2 separate regions of the Homo sapiens genome follow, and region 1 is linked to region 2. Evidence: promoter capture Hi-C in 16 types of primary human blood cells and fetal thymus (Javierre and others, 2016). All regions are on one chromosome and are shown on one strand. Each heading gives the region's core, a stretch centred on a gene start or on the middle of the fragment in contact. The rest is flanking DNA. Distances are from core to core; before and after follow the strand shown.

Region 1 (3,914 bases), core at 1,266-3,765, 1.1 Mb before region 2:
ATGTTTCTCAACATACCCCTTCATGTTGGTCTTATCTGACGAAGAAGTGAAAACCACATTCCCTGGGCTGAATGCTGAGAAAACGGGTGCCAAAATCTAACAGCACCCATGAGAAAGGTAGTGAGAGATGTACACACCTGCTCTAAGGCACAGGGAGAAGGGTTTCCACAGGGGAGACCAAGACAGCATTCATTACACACATGCTAATCATCAGATGGGATGTGAACAATTGTTTTTTCTTTAGAAATAGAAACTCTGTAGAAAGTCATTCATAAAAATGGAACATTTACTTTTGTGACTATCACCTCCATTCTACCATCTTAAAAAGAGGTTTGTCATTAGTCAAAACCAGTTCAGCAGATTAACTGGCCATCACCTCCACACACTGCTGTATTTCAGTGAATTGTGATCCCTAATATTCAGGACACAGCTTTAGACCAGAAGGCCAACCAAAGCACGAACTGCAACTTCCAATAATACAGACCAGCTGGGTAGCAGTCTCTTAAGAATAAACTTCCAGACACCAACATCTGAGATACAGCACAGTAAATGTAACCCATGGAAACAGCAGGCAGATCTGGCCCCCACATGATGCCTACTCAGACCAAGAGGAGGCTGTGTGTGCTGAGGTCCTGGGGCCTTCTGCACGATGACCAACCTATCTCAAGTGGAACGGTCAAGACGGTCAGCCTGGCCCCGTGAGCTTCACCTCAATCAGTCATGCCACCCAGTAACACAGAGACTCATTTCATAAAAGGTGACTGTATATTCAGTCACTTTCTTGACTTTTGACTCAAAGCTTATTTAACACCCATGGCAATGTAAATTCTACATCAAAAATAAATGAGAACATTATCTGCAATACAACATGGATTCCAGATAGACTGGCACTTGATTTCTGTGGCTATGATGTTAAAAGTGCCTTTTTTCACAAAGCATTTCAAATCAAGGTAGCCAATAGCAAACAGGCAAAGTTTGCAGAGCTCAATGAAGTCTGAATGATTAGTGCAGGTATCTTCCTGTTTTTCTTTACATATTTCCTCCCTACCTCCCACAACAGGCTCTGATCCAAGGACTAACCAAATTTGGCAAGCTGTTGTCAGACCTTATGGACATGCCTTTCAGAGCTCCATATCATTTTAGAAAATTGGAGAGTTTGTCAAGATATCCGGTAAAGGGTTGGGGCAAGGGAGAACAAGTACTGGCCAGCATTTCACTCCAAATATCCTTGTATGAGACCTCAGCTCCAAGTGGGCCATGCAACCAGGGAGATGAGCTGGGGAATCAGAGGGAGGCAGCAGCTAAAGTGGCAATGCTTAGACTCTTTCGTTTTGTTACAAAGGGGCGACCGCGTGGAGTTCATCAGTGTAGCTGCGGCAACCAAGATCTGCTTTGCATGACCCAGAAGAGAGGAGCTTGGAAGGAAGGGCAGGAGGTTCCTCCTCACCTAAGGAGAGAAGAGAGTACAGAGTCACACTGTCATTGCATTTCACTGGGCTGGGCAGGTGCTCATGGCAGAATGTGACTGGATCTGGGTTTGGACTATGGGCTCTGTATAAACGAGGCAAGAATCCCAACCAACTCAAGATGGGGCACTCTCATCCTCCTAACAGGTTCTAGTTCCCTTAGTTGAGGAAGGAAGAGATATTTCTTAAAAGTCAAGCGTTTAGGCCGGGCGCAGTGGCTCACGCCTGTAATCCCAGCACTTTGGGAGGCCGAGGTTGAGGGATCACTTGAGGTCAGGAGTTTGAGACCAGCCTGGCCAACATGGTGAAACCCAATCTCTACTAAAGATACAAAAATTTAGCTGGGCATGGTGGCGCATGCTTGTAATCCCAGCTATTCGGGAGGCTGGGCAGAAGAATCGCTTGAACCCAGGAGGCAGAGGTTGCAGTGAGCTGAGATCATGCCATTGCAGCCTGGGCGACAGGGTGAGACTCCATCTCAAAAAAAAAAAAAAAAAGTCAAGGGTTTGTATGCATGACTCCAACTAGTTACAGACATGGTAAGGGACAGCCTGAGATGGCATCTACCTGATGCTCCCTGCAGAAGTAGGCCTTCCTAGAGAGCCCTCATACCTGGGACCCTATGCTGAAGGATAGAAAGAATACTGTACCCATGAATCCCAGACTCAATGAATGTAGCTTTAAAGACAATGGGGGCGGGGGGTGTGAACATTACAGGTCTAAAAAAGACGCATCCACAAACTGTTACCCAAGACCCTTGGGGCCCAATGTGTTTTCGTGTCTGATGTTTTTGGAGTTTAGAAAAGTGATACAGTGCATAGTCTGTATGTGGCACAACACCCCTTGCAGGGTCTGGGCAGCTCACTATAATTTAGCATTAGTATTTCTGCAACTCAAACATGTGAGTACTCCCATCACCTGGTATAAATCAAGACTACCAAACGAGCTGTGTTCTCATCAGGTTTCATTGCCCAATAAGTTGGCACCAAAAGTGGAAAAACGCTTTGACTGATTTCAGAAGCATGGTCAAAGGCTGCGGCCTGTTAGGACCCGGCCCCAAAGGCACCTTACCCAGGCCTGAAGAGGAGGACACGCTCTCCGTCAGGGAAGACGTTTCTGTCTGGTCCGTCGAGAGTCCTTCCATCAGTGGCAGAGACAGCTCGGATGAGGGCACAGACGAGTCATAGATGCCTGAGTCCCGCGGCATGTCCGAGGGGCTGCCGGCTTTCACCGTGTGCAGCAGGGGTTGCAGGGCGGCGCTACCGTCAAGGGCAGGCCGGGCCTCCCCGTCTTGGTCCAGGCCCCCATGCTGACTCTCGTGCTGGGAGTCGGCTGGTCCGGTTGCCCCAAGAACAGCCGCCTCTACCTTTAGGCAGAAGTCACTCTCAGGCCCTGGTTTGCACATGACATCATTTAAAACCAAGCCCGAATCAAATTTCTCCAAGACTGGCTCCCGGTAGCGCAGTGGAGGAGGATGGAAGGGAACGAACTGCTTTTCGAACCAGTCGGGCTCCTCGTCAATAAACTGGTGCATGTTGCAAATGGCGACGTATAGGGACCGGCCTGACTTGCTCCGGAAGTAGTTCCTTCTGCTGCCCTGTCGCGTGTGCTGCCCCGGCTCCTGGAGGCCGTGGTCTCGGGAGTGCAAGTGGGAACAGAGCTGAGGAAGATTGTCCATGAGTCTGTACTTGGTACTCAGGTCTAGGATACCGGGGACGTCTCCCTCGCAGGAATAATCAAAGTAGACGGCGATAAACTTGCTGAGCGCCGCGGACGAACTCTGCTTGGCCTGGCGGAGCTTTTCGGCAATGGCTGACACCGCCACCAGGAAGAGCTCTCCTTTCCCCGAGCCTCGGCCACCTCCTTTGTGTTTGTAGTTCTTCTTGTCCACAAAGTACTTCATACCTTTGGAACAAACCACAATGATGAACTGGGACTCGTGGATCTTCTGGATGACCCATTCTCTCTGCCCTTCTCTACAGAGGCTGAAGTCTTCCCACAGGTCCAGAGCCACCTGGAAAGAGAACAAGGCACCTCACCCATACAGAAGGCTCGGGAAGAGGCTCGGGAAGTGAGTAACAGGAAGGGAAATGTCAGAAGGAGGCCATCTCATCTGCCCCTTAACCCTTATTAGCACAGCTATGTGCAGGCTCCAGGTTACACCATACCAAGGAACAGCTAAAGTTCCGTGGGTGATGGTCACACCCTAGTCCCTCTGCAAAAACTTGCCATCCATCCATTTTTGTATCACATGGAGTCATTACCACTCCTGCCCTACAAGTGAGGGGACAGAAGCGCAGTGCTTTTGGCACCTTGCCCAAGTCACACCCTACATAGGATATCCTCAAGGAAGCAACAGGTGGTAGAGAGCACAGGACAGAGAAACTGAGGTTGGTTGATCTGGTGAGTGAGGTGCCTAGATTGGAGGGGCAGATTCTGGAGAGAAGG
Region 2 (3,737 bases), core at 53-2,552:
GATTGGGAGGGTCCTTGGCCTTGTCAGCCAAGGCCAGACTCATCCATTTGCCCAGAAAGCCAGATCCTAGTTGTATGGGGGTGGGATCCTAGGGGTTTAGAAGACATTATGGGTGTGAGATACAGGTGTGGTGGCTTTTGTGTTGGGGTGCGCGGGCTCTCCTGGGGTTACTGTGTAGGGTACTCGCCTGTCCTCTGGCTGAGAGACCCCTCTTGATCTGGCCATTCATGCCTGTCCCCCTCCCTCCTGTATCTTAGGCCAGCGTCTAGTTAGCCCTGGCTCAGCCAACGAGACCTCATCCATCCTGGTGGAGTCAGTGACCAGGTCGTCTACAGAGACCTGCTATAGCGCCATTCCCAAGGCATCCTCGGACGCCAGCAAGGTGACCTCTAAGGGGGCAGGGCTCTCAAAGGCCTTTGTGGGCCAGAAGAGTTCCTTCCTGGTGGACTGCAGCAAAGCTGGTAGGTGTCTGGGCCTTTTCAAGGGTGGGGTGGGGCAGGGGCAGGCTGGGCACCCTGGGTACACTGGCCTTCCCTGCTGAGGTCTCCTGCAGTGCCCACCCCCATGTAGGCCAGCCGTTTGCAAGTAACCATCGTCATGACCCTGTTCTCCTGCACTTAATATTTTTAAATGATTTCCTTCTCTTTTGCCTTTTGAACTTGGGTATTTATTTGGGTTTCAAGGGTCGGTTGCCTGGGTTCTGGCATCCAGTACACCTGGGCTGGAAACCTAGTACCGCCACTTCATTCATTCATTCGTTTGTTCTAAAACTTATTTAGCCATGTGACCTTGGAAAGTTATTAAATCTCTTTCCAAAAGTCAGTTTCCTCTTCTCGGAAGTACCTTCCTTAAGGTGCTTGTGAGAGTAAACAAGAAGATTCTCATAGCCAACACTTAGAATAGCCCTTACTGTGTGCTAGGTTTTGACACCCATAACTCTTAAACCTCACAACTAGTTCGTGAGGTATGTGCTGTTCTCATTCCCTGTTTACAGATGGGGAAGCTGAGCTAGGGAGAGGTGAGATTCCAGTCCAAGGTCACCCAGGTAGCAAGTGGCAGGGCAGGGATTCGAACCCACACCGTCAGGCTCTATGAGCCTCTGCTTGTAATTGCCACGCTCTCCCACCTCTTAGGGGCCCCAGCATTATCGTGGAAGCACCTTACCTTTGGCTCTCATATTTCCTCTTCTTCCTGTGCCTGTCCTGATGCATCCGGGTGGAGTAACCACCTTTTGCCTCCTAGGCTCCAACATGCTGCTGATCGGGGTCCATGGGCCCACCACCCCCTGCGAGGAGGTCTCCATGAAGCATGTAGGCAACCAGCAATACAACGTCACATACGTCGTCAAGGAGAGGGGCGATTATGTGCTGGCTGTGAAGTGGGGGGAGGAACACATCCCTGGCAGCCCTTTTCATGTCACAGTGCCTTAAAACAGTTTTCTCAAATCCTGGAGAGAGTTCTTGTGGTTGCTTTTGTTGCTTGTTTGTAATTCATTTTATACAAAGCCCTCCAGCCTGTTTGTGGGGCTGAAACCCCATCCCTAAAATATTGCTGTTGTAAAATGCCTTCAGAAATAAGTCCTAGACTGGACTCTTGAGGGACATATTGGAGAATCTTAAGAAATGCAAGCTTGTTCAGGGGGCTGAGAAGATCCTGAGTACACTAGGTGCAAACCAGAACTCTTGGTGGAACAGACCAGCCACTGCAGCAGACAGACCAGGAACACAATGAGACTGACATTTCAAAAAAACAAAACTGGCTAGCCTGAGCTGCTGGTTCACTCTTCAGCATTTATGAAACAAGGCTAGGGGAAGATGGGCAGAGAAAAAGGGGACACCTAGTTTGGTTGTCATTTGGCAAAGGAGATGACTTAAAATCCGCTTAATCTCTTCCAGTGTCCGTGTTAATGTATTTGGCTATTAGATCACTAGCACTGCTTTACCGCTCCTCATCGCCAACACCCCCATGCTCTGTGGCCTTCTTACACTTCTCAGAGGGCAGAGTGGCAGCCGGGCACCCTACAGAAACTCAGAGGGCAGAGTGGCAGCCAGGCCCACATGTCTCTCAAGTACCTGTCCCCTCGCTCTGGTGATTATTTCTTGCAGAATCACCACACGAGACCATCCCGGCAGTCATGGTTTTGCTTTAGTTTTCCAAGTCCGTTTCAGTCCCTTCCTTGGTCTGAAGAAATTCTGCAGTGGCGAGCAGTTTCCCACTTGCCAAAGATCCCTTTTAACCAACACTAGCCCTTGTTTTTAACACACGCTCCAGCCCTTCATCAGCCTGGGCAGTCTTACCAAAATGTTTAAAGTGATCTCAGAGGGGCCCATGGATTAACGCCCTCATCCCAAGGTCCGTCCCATGACATAACACTCCACACCCGCCCCAGCCAACTTCATGGGTCACTTTTTCTGGAAAATAATGATCTGTACAGACAGGACAGAATGAAACTCCTGCGGGTCTTTGGCCTGAAAGTTGGGAATGGTTGGGGGAGAGAAGGGCAGCAGCTTATTGGTGGTCTTTTCACCATTGGCAGAAACAGTGAGAGCTGTGTGGTGCAGAAATCCAGAAATGAGGTGTAGGGAATTTTGCCTGCCTTCCTGCAGACCTGAGCTGGCTTTGGAATGAGGTTAAAGTGTCAGGGACGTTGCCTGAGCCCAAATGTGTAGTGTGGTCTGGGCAGGCAGACCTTTAGGTTTTGCTGCTTAGTCCTGAGGAAGTGGCCACTCTTGTGGCAGGTGTAGTATCTGGGGCGAGTGTTGGGGGTAAAAGCCCACCCTACAGAAAGTGGAACAGCCCGGAGCCTGATGTGAAAGGACCACGGGTGTTGTAAGCTGGGACACGGAAGCCAAACTGGAATCAAACGCCGACTGTAAATTGTATCTTATAACTTATTAAATAAAACATTTGCTCCGTAAAGTTGCCTTGGTGTTCTTGGATGATGTCGCTTCTGAATAAATTGTTTAATCCTAGGAGTTCAACACCCTCAGCCTGGGTAACAGCAAGACCCAGCCTCTACAAAAAATTAAAAAATTAGCCAGCATGGTGATGCATGCCTGCAGTCCCAGCTACTCAGGAGGCGGAGGCAGGAGGATTGCTTGAGCCTGAGAGGCCAAGGTTGCAGTGAGCTGTGTTTGCAACCCTGCACTCTAGCCTGGGCAACAGAGCAAGACAGTGTAACACACACACACACACACACACACACACACACACACACACAGGCACATCGTTGGAGCCCCAGATCAGCTCTCCCAACCCCTTAAGGGACACAAAACTAGCAACTTGTTTTGACAATGAACCTGGGCTCCTTTTGTGGGGGTGGGGTGGGGCTGGTAAACAAGCTGTCACCTGTCACCCTGCTGTGCTTATTGTTGCTGCTGCCTCTGTTTCTCTTTTTTTTTTTTTTTTAATTTTCCTTTTTTGAGACAGAGTCTCACTCTGTTGCCCAGGCTGGAGTGCAGTGGCAGGATCTCTGCTCACTGCAGCCTCCGCCTCCCAGGTTCAAGTGATTCTTCTGCCTCAGCTTCCCAAGTAGCTGGGACTACAGGCGTGCACCACCATGCCTGGCTAATTTTTGTCTTTTTAGTAGAGATGTGGTTTCGCCGTGTTGGCCAGGCTGGTCTTGAACTCCTGACCTCAAGTGATCCGCCCTGCCTTGGTCTTCCAAAGTGCTGTATTACAGGCGTCAACCACTGCGACTGGCCTGTTTCTCCTTTTTCTAGAAGAGCTTTTGATTG

What was found. Contacts are between HindIII fragments. The CHiCAGO score rates a contact against its expected background, and 5 or more counts as called.
Region 1: a fragment that was not itself captured here is called in contact with the fragment with the promoter of FLNB-AS1 in region 2 in 1 of 17 cell types (naive B cells); the score reaches 6.8 in naive B cells.

Annotation. Positions count from the first base shown.
Region 1 is chr3:57,095,059-57,098,972 of GRCh38, forward strand. IL17RD (interleukin 17 receptor D) reads right to left here. Exons shown (of 13, transcript NM_017563.5): 12 at 2,538-3,480; 13 at 1-1,447. The coding sequence ends at 1,335. Among named protein-coding and RNA genes, the nearest start is that of SPATA12, 36 kb to the left of the region's middle. RefSeq lists an enhancer at 2,158-3,357. The HindIII fragment of the contact is 3,437 bases long and covers 798-3,914 here.
Region 2 is chr3:58,169,333-58,173,069 of GRCh38, forward strand. FLNB-AS1 (FLNB antisense RNA 1) reads right to left here and starts at 1,303. Exons shown (of 2, transcript NR_135534.1): 1 at 1,165-1,303. It overlaps FLNB (filamin B), which reads left to right. Exons shown (of 46, transcript NM_001457.4): 45 at 258-461; 46 at 1,243-2,919. The coding sequence ends at 1,430. It overlaps LOC124909485, which reads left to right and starts at 2,445. Exons shown (of 6, transcript XM_047449435.1): 1 at 2,445-2,541; 2 at 2,739-2,829. The coding sequence starts at 2,445. The HindIII fragment of the contact is 5,353 bases long and covers 1-1,627 here.